Regions from separate parts of the Homo sapiens genome. Here all the other regions are linked to region 1. The links are contacts of gene promoters, found by promoter capture Hi-C in blood cells and fetal thymus (Javierre and others, 2016). All regions are on one chromosome and are shown on one strand. The core of a region is centred on a gene start or on the middle of the fragment in contact, and the rest is flanking DNA. Distances in the headings are between cores, read along the strand shown.

Region 1 (4,110 bases), core at 1,114-3,613:
TCCCTTGGTGGGAATGGCAGGCGGGCCGGGGAGTGTGTATCTGTGTGTGTGTGCTGGGCCCAGGAGGAGGGTGGGGTTCAAGCCCCTTTGATCTGCCAGCCTGGTTGGGAGCAGATCACTCACCTGGCCTCACGCTCGCTCGTGCCCTTCCTACCTGCTGCAGCTGGCGCTGGGGGCGGGGTCGGAGGAGGCTGTTTACCTTGGCTCCCACGGCTGGCTTTGCCCCAGCTGCCTCCTCGCCACGCCCTCACTCTGCCAGAAACCCCGGGCCTGAGATCTTGGGACAGCTTCTTCAGGGTGCCAGGCCTCCTTTCCCATCTCTGAAGTGAGCTGTCCACCTGGAGGCCTGCGGAACCTGTGCCCAGGAAAACCAGGCTCCGGGCGGCTCACCTTCCCATACCAAGAAGAGCCTGTGACTCCCAACAGGTGCTCATGCTCGTCATCCCCAGAGCATTGCATCCTGGAGCTGAGCACGTGCTGAGTGTCCCCCCACCCTCACCCACCCCCAGCCCCGGAAGGGCCTTGTAAGCCCACACGGCCCAGGCTCTGCCAGTGTGGAGGTAGGGTACCATTTCCTGTGGCCCAGCACAAGGGATAATGCAAAGTCACGCACTCTTTCATGGGCAGGCAGCTCTCCACCCACTCCTTGTCATCCTCAAAAATGTCCTGTGCTGCTGGCCCTGAGCACGTGTGCCACTCGCTGCTGCCCACAAAGGAGCCATCCGGAAAGAATTAATGATGATGACAGTGACAACTCATTAAGCTCCCATTATCTGCTGGCAGCTCTGCTCTGTGCAATTATGCCTCCCAGTAACCCCGGGCGAGGTATTATTAGCCCCATTTAAAAGATGCAGAAGCCGAGGTTTTAGATTGTGACAAGATTCCAAGAATCCAGGTTGCCCTGGCATCTGGAGCCCTTGCTCTTTCCTCCGCTACAGGGTTTCTCAGCCTCTGCACTCCTGATGTTTGGGAAGGCCGTCCTGTGCCCTGAAGGGTGGTGAGCGGCATCCCCGGCCTCCCCCAACTTAAGATGCAGTGCACACCCCAAGTTGTGGCCACCAGCGATGCCTTCATACATTGCCACTGTCCCCTGGGGGCCCACTGGGCCCTGGTTGAGAGCCTCTGACGTGGGACATGCTGCAGAGTAAAGAGCCAACACGAACCTTGTGTGATGCTGAGGGCCAGTGGCCTTAGAACACAGGAGAGGGAGGCTGAGACGCCCCATGGTGGGCTGGAACAGGTGGGCAGTCTGGAGCCTGGGAACGACCCAGCTCTGCCACTTGCTAATTGTCTGGACCTGTTGCTGCTTGTTTAATTTTTTCTAAGCTTCAGTGTTCTCATCTGGAGGATGGGGATACAAATACTGCCAGCCTCTTAGGATTGGTAGTTTATACGGTGTTTTTCTCAGCGTGTGGCTTGTAGCTGGCATTCATAGATGTTAGTTGTGGTATTATTACCAAATCCGGGGGCTTATGGGTAGTTCTGGGCATCTAGTGGCCACATTACCAAAAGCATCTTCAGGGACGGTCTCCCTGCTCAGATTAAAAGGGACTCTAGTTGCTCATTTGCCTAGGGTTGGGGAAGAATATCCCAGGTGGCCCTCCTGGTGGAGGAGGCAGAAGAATCATACTGGACAGAACCTGGAAAATGGTAGACTCCTTCATGCATTTGACCAGTATTTACCGAGGACCTACTATGTGCCTCTCTCTCCTCCTCAGACCCTATCCTGGGCTCTTTCACACTCAGCCTTGGAGGGGCATCTCCTATGTGTCGTGGGCCTGGATCTGGGGTGTCCACTCGGCCTGTTCAGGGGTCTGCCTCCTCTGCCGTGGCTGGCAGCTGCAGCCGGCTCTCCAGTGGGCAGGGAGATCTTGGCACAAGCACTAAATGCCATTTGCTACTAGGCCTTTGGGCCCCTCCCCTGGGGGGTTAATTGAATCTTTACTCCACAAACGCTTCTTGTTCTCCTTCTGCCAGTGATCCAGGGAGGCCTGGCTAGGCACCCGGCTTTGGCGTTTTCTCTGCCCCTTCTAACGCCTCCTGGCAGAATTAGAATTGAATCGAATGTTCTTCAAGCCCCTCGATTCACAGATGAGAGCCAGGACCATAGGGGCAGTGACCAGCCGAGGTCACACGGCAGTTGGTCCAAAGGCGTGGGATTCAGCTCTCTGGCCTGCCAGTTCTGGGTTTGACAGAACTCTCAGGGGAAGCGGCTTTCGCTGGTGTTCACTGGAGACCAAGCCCTCTGTTCTGTGGGTTGGGTACTTTGTCAACATTTGGAGAGCACCGGAGGCGTGGTCTCTCTTCTGAGGTGGAAAGAATGAACTTGCTTGAGGGCGGGAGGAGGCAGAGCCCGGAGGAGATGGGGCCGAAAGTGAGGGGCAGCGGGGCCCATACCCTCCTCTGTCTTGCACGTGCAGCCCCTGGCTGCCCGGATATTGAAGGAAAGACCCTAGTTCTCAGCCAAGCCCTGCCACCTTTTTTTCCTCAAGTTGCCCAGCAGCCCTTAGACATTGGGCGGAGTTGTAAGCTCCATGTTCAAACAAAGACATGGAGACTCAGGGGTTTCAGGGAATGATGTAGCTTTAAAAGTGGTCACCCCCACCCCCCGCCCTGAGTCTTCTGGCTCCTGGATCGATGTGGGTGGCCAGAGTTGGTCATGGATGAACCCCTGGAGGTGTTGCTAGACCTCATGATAAGCTGGAGGAAACAGAGCTTTCGGGGAGAGCCCCCTGAGGCTGGCCACAGGGCTGAGACGACCTCTTCTCCTCTCCCTCGCTCCCCCTCCGCCGTCAGGCAGCGAGAAAGCAGCATCCCTTTTGTGAAGGTAGCCTGCACCGACCCCCTCTGAGCCCCCCGACCTTCGGCTCCGGGAATGTGGAGCGAACCAAGAAGGGAAGTCCTCCCTTCTTAATCCAGGGAAACTGAGGCAGAAAATAGTTTAACCCAAGGTTCTATAGTAATGTGCCAAGCCTATTGATGCCCTCTCCAGGACTGTCTGTCCAGACCGTGCAGCCCGAGTGCCTGTGCCTGCACGTGTGTGTTTGCACACGTGGAAGTCCGGTTCCAGCCTTTGAACGTGCAGCGACATCTTAGGAATTTTCTTTGCTTCTCAGTGGCTGGTGGTCTGGATTGTGATTCTCAGTCTCCCATCTGCCCTCGCCTCTTTCTTGGGATCTCTGGCATCCGCCCCTTGGGTCTCCTGGGACTGTGGGGGACGTGGCTGTGACCTTCCTACGGGGCTGCTCTTGTGTCATTGTGGGACCTGCGGTTTCCCTGGAGGAAGCCCAGCTCCGAATGAGGCCTGTTGAAGTGTTATCAGGTTTCGAGTATGTTTGGCAACAGGCCAAAGGGGCTCTAAAAATAGGGTTTGGTTGGGCACAGGGCACGGGTAAGCTTTCAGGTTTCCCGGCCGTGTCCGAGGATTCCCTTTTCGCCTCTTTCGAGTGAGAGACTTCATAGATACCGCTAGGACCTGGGGCCTCCTGAGGCCATCGCACTCTGCACGCGTTTATTAAGCACCTCTTGTACCCAGGAGCCTGGGAGTACAGGCTCTGTCATCCCAAAGGCATGGGTTTGAATGCAGCTTTTGCCAATAATTGAGCCTCTCTTTGAACGTTTGTTTTCCCCTCTGTAAAATGGGGGTTAGATTGGCCATGGGAGATGCTGGCTGTCTTCAGCTGTCAGGTGTGTTGTGAGACTCAGGGAGAAATCAGATTTTGGTGCATTCCCAGAACATGTAGTTTGGTGGGGGAGACAGACATAGAGACAAGCAGGTCCAACTCAAAGCAAGCTGGGGTTCCTGTTGGGGGTTGAGGGTGCAGGGACTGAGCTGGGTCTCAGAGGCTTCGGCAGGTCCAGGCCCCGAGGCCTTTGTGCTCCTGATCATCAGGCCTGGATCCTGCCTGTCCGTCTCCCTGTGACCTTGGAGCTTTCCACAGGAGAAAGCGAGAAAGCGTGTGGTGGGGGAGACAGCCATGCTGGAAAGCCCCCACTCCCAGCTCACTCAGCCTTTTGGTGTCTGCCCGGCAGGGGGACCCCATTCCCGAGGAGCTTTATGAGATGCTGAGTGACCACTCGATCCGCTCCTTTGATGATCTCCAACGCCTG
Region 2 (4,110 bases), core at 846-3,345, 440 kb after region 1:
GAATTATTCTATATCTATTTGTTCACATGGCTGTCTGTTCACTGGACTGTGCCTTCCATGGGATCAAGGTCCTCATCTTACTCCTCTCTGAATCACTAGCACCTGACGAGGGCTGAGCTCCCAGTAGATGCTGTAACTGCCCAATGGGTTCACCTTGCCCACTGCCTAGACAGAGCCGATGTATCAAGACAGGGGGATTGCAATGGAGAAAGGTAATTCAAACAGAGCCAGCTGTGCGGGAGAGGGGAGTTTTATTATTACTCAAATTACTCAAACAGAGGAATGCAGCGGTGAGATTTGGGTTTTGGCAGGGTCATGTTGACTATGGTACAGAGGATAAATTAGAGAGGTGCAAGACTGCAGCCAGGGAGTCCCACCAGGAGATTGCACTCAGGTAGATGGGATTGTGGTGTTGTGCACATGGAGGGTGCCATGAACGTGGCCAGAAAGGCTGTATCAGGAAATAGTGAGGAGTCGAAATTGGCATGCTTGTGACTGGAAGTGGGCTGTTGTAGTGGGAAGGGTGAAGGACTCCCCCCTGTTTTCTGATGGAGGCAACTGGGTCGGGGGTGGTGCCATTTACTGGAATGGGGAATGCAGGAAGAGCAGATTGGAGGGAGATGATCAATTCAGTTTGGGACACACTGAGTTTGAAGGGCTTGTGGAACATTCTGGTGCACATGGCTAGGAGGCAGTTGAATATGCTACCCAAGCATTCAGGGATCAGAGGTTTTAAAGATAATTTTGTGGGTAGGGGCTTGGCAAGCGAGGAGTGTTGATTGATTAAGTCGAAGATGGAATACTGAGGGGGTCGAAGTGAGGTTTTCTTGCTGTCTTCTGTTCCTGGGTGGGATCACAGAACTGTTTGAGCCACATTACTGGTCTGGGTGGTGTCAGCTGATCCATCGAGCGCAGGGTCTGCAAAATATCTCAAGCGCTGATCTTAGGTTTTACAATAGTGATGTTATCCCCAGGAGCAATTTGGGAAGGTTCAGACTCTTGCAGCCAGAGGCTGCTGTGTGACCCCTAAACCATAATTTCTAATGTTGTAGCTAATTTGTTAGTCCTACAAAGGCAGACTGGTCCCAAGGCAGGAAGGGAGCCTTTTTGGGAAAGGGCTATTGTCAATTTTGTTTCAGAGTAAAACTATAAACTAAATTCCTTCCCAAGGTTCGTTCAGCCTATGCCTAGGAATGAACAAAGACAGCTTAAAGGCTAGAAAGGCAAGATGGAGTGGGTTAGGTCTGATCTCTTTCACTGTCATAATTTCCTCAGTTATAATTTTGGCAAAGACAGCTTCAATGCTAGTAAATGTGGCAGTGGGGTTTCACCCCAAGTACTCATCACAATAATAAAGGTTTAAACTACGAAGTACCCAACTGACCCTTTGATCTACCAATCAAATAATAGAATCCGCCAGTTCTTCCCCTTTCCCCTTTTCCTTCTCCGTACTTTCGGATTAATTTTCCCTCCCAAGGGGAAGAAAAGGCAGGCTCTGGGCAACTGTGTCTGAAATTAGGTGGTACAAATGTCTCCTAGTGACTAGAGCTAGGTGACCATACAAGGGTGTGGCACAGAGGAAGGAGCCCCTGGGTTCCTTCTCCAGGGAGATTACCTCCATCCTTTACCAAGTTACTTAACCTCTCTGAACTTTAGTTCAGATGGGATGACGAATATTATCACCTAAAAGTACTGTAATGAGAATCAAGTGAGATATTAATTGTACAGCCCTACAAAAATGCTAGTTATTATCAGGCTTTTCAGATCCCAATAAAGTAGTGGCTAAGTGTCACGACACCAACAAGTTGCATTTGTTATTTCAAGTGACTAAAAGAACCTCCCAAGGCAGTACTGCTTTTCGAAGTTTGTTTCCCTAGAAAAAGAACTTCAATGTGTCCCCTGCTCCTCGGGCACGCTTAAGACAACTATAAGTGAAGTCCCGCCTCCCTGGCCTCTAAACCACGCCCCTGTCCTTGCAAACGCCTGACTTATAAGGGCCTTTCACTCTGATTGATACTTTTATCCACCAATAATAAGTGAAATTCTCGTCAACGTCCGGTGAGGGGGCAGGACTTCCTTGCTGGTTGCTAAGACACTCTTGTTTCGCTCCTTGACAACCCTGGCGGGGGTTCGCTGGCTGCGGCCCCGGCTCCGGCCCCCGCAGGAGCAGGTGAGGCCCCGGGGCGCGGCGGGCAGCCAGGCGGGGAGGGCCGGCCCGGAGGGAGGGCGGGAGGCAACGCAGGGCGGAAGAGGCCTCGCCCGCCGCCGAGGCCCCACCTCGGTCTCCTGCCTGCTGTTCCCCTGCCCCAGGTCTTCCCATCCTCAACCCCCACCCTCACCCCCACTTCGGGACCTGCGAGCTCTGTCGTGACAGGTTTGCCATCGCGACTCTGCCGGCTGCTCTTCCCCACCCACCCAAGGCCTGCCCAGCTTCGTGGTCCCGCGTCCCCCTTTAGCCGACTTCCCCCAGCACCTTGATCCCTCGACCTTTCGCGGAGTAATTCCCTCTCCCGCGGGGTCGCCATCAACTAGGTCAGACCGCTCTTGGCTTGGAGAGTTGGCGACTTACTGGGATTCTGGGCTGGTCATTTCCCCTGTTTGGGCCTCAGTTTCCCCATCTGTAAATGAGAAGTTGAGTTGAGTGATCTCTAAGGCCTCTTCCACTCTGACGTTCTAGGATGTCGTTGTTCTTTGACCCAACTTTAGGCTTCCGAGAGGATGTGCTCCCCAATGGGAGGTATCGTGTATTGTGAAAATAACTTGGCAAACCTAATTTGGATTCCCAGTCTCAAGACCTACCCTCCCTGCGCTTTTAATCAGTGCATATGTAAAATCAGTATACGTCGGTGCATCTCCTTTGGTAATTCTGAGGCTAATATGAAGTACAGAGTCCAGTCCAGTATAGATTCAGTATTTGTTAGTTTCTTTCCTTTGTCTCTTCACCACATTTTCCCTCTCTGGGAAATGTTATCAACCCGGTCAGCATGAACTGTCATTTCTCCAGTTGACCCTCTCTGATCTTCCTCCTGGGCTTCCATGGTTAGGGTTACTTAGGGGTGGGGAGGGGACAGATGGAGATTGAAATACAGTCATGTACCATATAACAACGTTTTGGTCAAGAAAGACCACAGATACCACGGTGGTGCCCTAAGGTTATAATGGAGCTGACAAATTTCTATCACCTAGTTACATAGCTATCGTAATGTCAAAGCAAAATGCATGACTCACGTGTGTGGTGATGCTGGTGTAAGCAAACCTACAGTGCTGCCAGTCATATAAAATATAGCACATACAATTGTGTACAGGACATCATACTTGATAATGGTAATAAATGACTGTTACTTGTTTATGTGTTTACTATCCTACACTTTTATTGTTATTTTACAGTGTACACTCCTCCTACTTATAAGAAAATAAAATTTAACCGTAAACAGTCTTAGATAGGTCCTTCAGGAGGTATTCAAGCAAAAGGCTTTGTTATCATAGGAGATGACAGCTCCATGCGTGTTATTGCCCTGAAGACCGTCCAGCGGGACAAGATGTGGTAGTGGAAGATAGTGACACTAAGCATCCTGACCCTGTGTAGGCTTAGGCTAGTGTATCTGTGTCTGAGTTTTAACAAAAAAGTTAAAAATGTTAAAAATAAAAAATAAAGGCCAGGAGCGGTGGCTCACGCCTATTAATCCCAGCACTTCGGGAGGCCGACACAGGCAGATCACCTGAGGTCAAGAGTTTGAGACTAGCCTGGCCAACATGGTAAAACCTGTCCCTACTAAAAATACAAAAAATTAGCCAGACGTGGTAGCGGGCACCTGTAATCCCAGCTACTCAGGAGGCTGAGACAGGAGAATGGCGTGAACCCGGGAGGTGGAGGTTTCAGTGCGCCGAGATAGCGCCATTGCGCTCAAGCCTGGGCAACAAGAGTAAAACTTTGTCTCAAAAAAAAAAAAGTAAAAAAGAAATAGAAAATTTATAAGTAGAAAAAAGCTTATAGAATAAAGATATAAAGAAAGAAAATATTTTTGTATAGCTGTACAATGTGTTTGTGTTTTAAGCTAAGTGTTACTACGAAAGAGTCAAAAAGTTAACAAAATCAAAACTTTTACAAAG
Region 3 (4,110 bases), core at 811-3,310, 390 kb after region 1:
ACAAAAATTAGCTGGGCGTGGTGGCGTGCACCTGTAGTCCCAGCTACTTGGGAGACTGAGGCAGGAGAATTGCTTGAACCCGCAAGGCAGAGGTTCCAGTGAGCCGAGATCACGCCACCGCACTGCAGCCTGGGTGACAGAGCAAGACTCTGTCTCAAAAATAAAATAAAATAAAAAATAAAGTCATTCTAGGAGATCAACAGACCAGTTTAAACACAATTTGACTCCAGCCTCTGGACCCATTTATCCAAACTGTCCCCAAAGTCTCAGGGGGCAGCTCAGGTAAAGGTGGCACCATTTGGTGCCCAAGTCACAGTGGCTCTGCTGCTCTTGGCAGCAGCCCTCTCTCTTGGCATCTCCTGTCCTTCCCTGGACTTCCTATGACAGTTTCTCCTGGGGATGCTATCTCCGTGTTTCTGTCTTCACGGCACACGTGTAGATGTACCAGGAGTCCCGATGTCTCATGCATCCCCAGGACTTTAGCAGGGCCTACCGCTGGCCTTTGCCTTCCAAGAGCCCAGCCCATCTCTCTGTCCATGAGATGCTTCCTCCAAGCCCAGCTGCCTGCCCTGGGTTTTGAGGTTACGACTTCAGTGAGCACCAGCACACATCCACGCACACACAGCACTCAGGTTCCTGGCATACAGCGCTTGTGTTTGCTTCTCTCCTCTTTCACAACTCAGGTATGGATGAAAATCCCTGGCTCCTAGAGATGGGTGAACAGGGTGGACATCATCCTAACATGTGTGGAGAGAGGGAGGTGGAGCACGTGTGCCTGGGAACACTGGACAAAATCCCCGTGGCTGGAGAGCGTCCCCCAGGGTTGTGGCTTCCTGGGAAACATTCCGGTCTCTCCCCACCACCAGCGCTATGTGAAGTACACTCGAAACCACAGTGGTAGCCGTGGTGGTCCAGAGATCCTGGTTTGCGCTTTCCCTTCAAGTCAAAAATGCAGGCTTGGAAGGGAGACAGAGCTGGGAATAACCACAGCCCTCCCAAGGCCCTTCCAGCCCTGGGAATCCGTATTGGTCAGGAAAGACCTCATGGAAAATTGGAGCTGGGGATAAAGTGTGGAGGATAGTAGGATTGTTTTTAAGTTTTTAATTGCAAAGTTAATTTTCAACAAAATATATATAGACATTTTTGACAGAAGAAAGTAAAACGCTCCTCTGCCACCCCCACAGCACAGCCCACTCCCATTCCTGCTGTTCCTTCTGGGCCTGGTCCACATGCCCACCAGGCACGTGGCACCGCTTGCCAACGAAGGCAGACTGCAGTGGGGGTGGGGGGTTTCTCTGGACCTGTGAGGCTCTAAGCCCCCAAGGATTCAGAGGAGAGAATTTCCATCATCCTCTGAGATCACAGGAAGATTCTGTAATGAGGGTGGCGGGGAGTGAACTCTGCTCCTTCAGAAGGTTGGAGGTGGGGGTGACGGGCAGGTGGCCACAGTATAAACAGAAGTTAGGTCAAAATCCGAGCCTCCCCCCAACCCCCAACACTGGCCTCTTCTCCACCTCTAACCGCTCCCACTCCAGCCCCATCCACAGTCTGGTCCGGTGAAACGTGCCTAAGCTCGCAGGCGGCTCCAACGCAGCCACCCGGTGACCTTGGACAGAGGCCTGACCTCAGGTGTCTCAGTTTCCTCATTTCTATTGTGAGCCTGTCCACGGCAAGGCTCAATTGCGACCGAGCTTGTGGCGCGCCCAGTGCACAGCCCCACCCGGAAGAAAGCTCCCTCCCGGGTGGATGTGAACATAACCGGCTTGGGGAGGGGGCCCGAGCACGGGAGGGCTGGGATGGGGGTCACCCAGGAGCCCCGCCGCGCGGCCCTCGGGTCGCCGGCCCCTGCGCTGTGACCGCGGCGAGATAAGGTCCCAGGCGCTGCCCTCGCTCCTCGCCGCATCCCCGGCGGCGCCCCCAGCCGGGCGCCCGGCACTGAACGGGTGCGGGGCTGGGCCGGGGCCAGGGCCGGCCCGGGGAAGCGAGTGGGGCGGGGCCGCCGCGCCCGCTCCCCCTCCCCGCCGCCTGCCGTCTTCTCCTCCTCCCGCCGCCCGGGCTCAGAGCGGCGGCAGCAGCGGCCGCGGCGACAGCTCCAGCTCCGGCTCCGGCTCCGGCTCCGGCTCCGGCTCCCGCGCCTGCCCCGCTCGGCCCAGCGCGCCCGGGCTCCGCGCCCCGACCCCGCCGCCGCGCCTGCCGGGGGCCTCGGGCGCCCCCGCCGCCCGCCTCACGCTGAAGTTCCTGGCCGTGCTGCTGGCCGCGGGCATGCTGGCGTTCCTCGGTGCCGTCATCTGCATCATCGCCAGCGTGCCCCTGGCGGCCAGCCCGGCGCGGGCGCTGCCCGGCGGCGCCGACAATGCTTCGGTCGCCTCGGGCGCCGCCGCGTCCCCGGGCCCGCAGCGGAGCCTGAGCGCGCTGCACGGCGCGGGCGGTTCAGCCGGGCCCCCCGCGCTGCCCGGGGCACCCGCGGCCAGCGCGCACCCGCTGCCGCCCGGGCCCCTGTTCAGCCGCTTCCTGTGCACGCCGCTGGCTGCTGCCTGCCCGTCGGGGGCCCAGCAGGGGGACGCGGCGGGCGCTGCGCCGGGCGAGCGCGAAGAGCTGCTGCTGCTGCAGAGCACGGCCGAGCAGCTGCGCCAGACGGCGCTGCAGCAGGAGGCGCGCATCCGCGCCGACCAGGACACCATCCGTGAGCTCACCGGCAAGCTGGGCCGCTGCGAGAGCGGCCTGCCGCGCGGCCTCCAGGGCGCCGGGCCCCGCCGCGACACCATGGCCGACGGGCCCTGGGACTCGCCTGCGCTCATTCTGGAGCTGGAGGACGCCGTGCGCGCCCTGCGGGACCGCATCGACCGCCTGGAGGTGAGCGCCGCGCGCCGTCGGGGGAGCCGCCCGGGTGGTGTGAGGGGCCGCCCGGCCGCGGTCGTCCGGCGGTCCCCGAGCCTCCGGTCTCCCGTCTGTGTTCCGGGGACGATCGCGCCTTCCTCGCTGGCGAGGCGGGGGGATTTCGATAGGGAACGCGGGCAGGCGTCTGGCACGGTGACTGAGGCACAGAGGGCGCGCCAGAAAGATTCGCTCCCCACCCTTTTCCGTCTCCAGGCACCTCTCTGAGCCTCAGTTTCTGTGTCTGTAAAATAGGTATAACAGTGTCCACTTGTAGTGGAAATTGAATCAAATGTAGGTGTGTGAAAATGCTTGGCACGTACTAGGACCTCATTAAATGTCCCTTTCATTTCCTTCTTCCGGACACCCCCAAATCAGCCCAGCTCCACGCTCACACTTTATGGCCAGGAGATGGATGCGCTGTCCAAAGGACTTGGGGTCCTCCCCTCATTACACAGAGCCGGGAACAGAGTGCCCTATAAGACAAACCTGGGTGCCCCTCACCACCTCCCTACCCTGAATCTCCCACTCTGGCTCAGACTATGACCCAAACCGCAGGAGCTCAGGTGCCAGGCGCCCAGCCTCACACACCTGGAAGCCCACAGCTCTTGGGTGGGGGCTGAATGGAGAACAGGGCCCCCCGAGCTCCTCCTCCTCCACTCACTTTTCCAGGCTTTCCTGACTCAGGCTTGGGGTCAGACACAAGGGGTCCAGCATGGGGGAACCCACTCTTGGCTCTCATGTGACCCTGGGCCAGTCATTTCCCCCCTGGAGTCCCATGGCCACCTTCCTCCCTGTAAGAATGAATTTGGGGCTCCCAGAAGTGCAAGGCAGACAGACTGGGCAGGACAAACATCCGGGACACATTCACTACCCCAGCCATGGCCTGACTTCCAGACCACAAGGAAGGGGGTTAAGCAACAAAATCAGATCTGTGGAAGGAAGAGAGAGAAAGAGGCCAAAGCCCGCGCTGCCCCCTCTGCTACCTCCACCCAGGTGGAGTGCAGCAGGCAAGTTGGAGGGAGGAGAGAGGCGGGGAGTAAATGCAGGGACCCCTTACTCCCGGGGCTTTTTAAGTTAAATCCTGGGCAAGCAGCACTGGTGATGCCCACTCACAAGGCTGAGGATGTCGTGGTCTGACAGCCCTCCAGGACGTCTGTACTGGTGTCAGCACCCTCCCCACAGGGTGTCAGAGTGCAGCCAGTCAGCCATTGCAGCCAACCCCTCACCTTACGG

The links. The method cuts DNA at HindIII sites, captures the fragments that hold promoters and counts their contacts. A CHiCAGO score of 5 or more calls a contact.
Region 2: a contact is called between the fragment with the promoter of DNAL4 here and a fragment that was not itself captured in region 1, in 1 of 17 cell types (erythroblasts). The highest score is 6.0, in erythroblasts.
Region 3: the fragment with the promoter of NPTXR here is called in contact with a fragment that was not itself captured in region 1 in 1 of 17 cell types (erythroblasts); the score reaches 6.8 in erythroblasts.

The regions. Positions count from the first base shown.
Region 1 is chr22:39,235,797-39,239,906 of GRCh38, reverse strand. PDGFB (platelet derived growth factor subunit B) reads left to right here. Exons shown (of 7, transcript NM_002608.4): 2 at 4,033-4,110. Among named protein-coding and RNA genes, the nearest start is that of PDGFB, 7.1 kb to the left of the region's middle. RefSeq lists enhancers at 1,793-2,687, 2,688-3,582. The HindIII fragment of the contact is 2,070 bases long and covers 1,329-3,398 here.
Region 2 is chr22:38,792,128-38,796,237 of GRCh38, reverse strand. DNAL4 (dynein axonemal light chain 4) reads left to right here and starts at 2,095. Exons shown (of 4, transcript NM_005740.3): 1 at 2,095-2,170. RefSeq lists a silencer at 1,904-2,353. The HindIII fragment of the contact is 6,501 bases long and covers 1-3,989 here.
Region 3 is chr22:38,841,978-38,846,087 of GRCh38, reverse strand. NPTXR (neuronal pentraxin receptor) reads left to right here and starts at 2,060. Exons shown (of 5, transcript NM_014293.4): 1 at 2,060-2,853. The coding sequence starts at 2,230. RefSeq lists a silencer at 2,472-2,541. The HindIII fragment of the contact is 8,819 bases long and covers 1-4,110 here.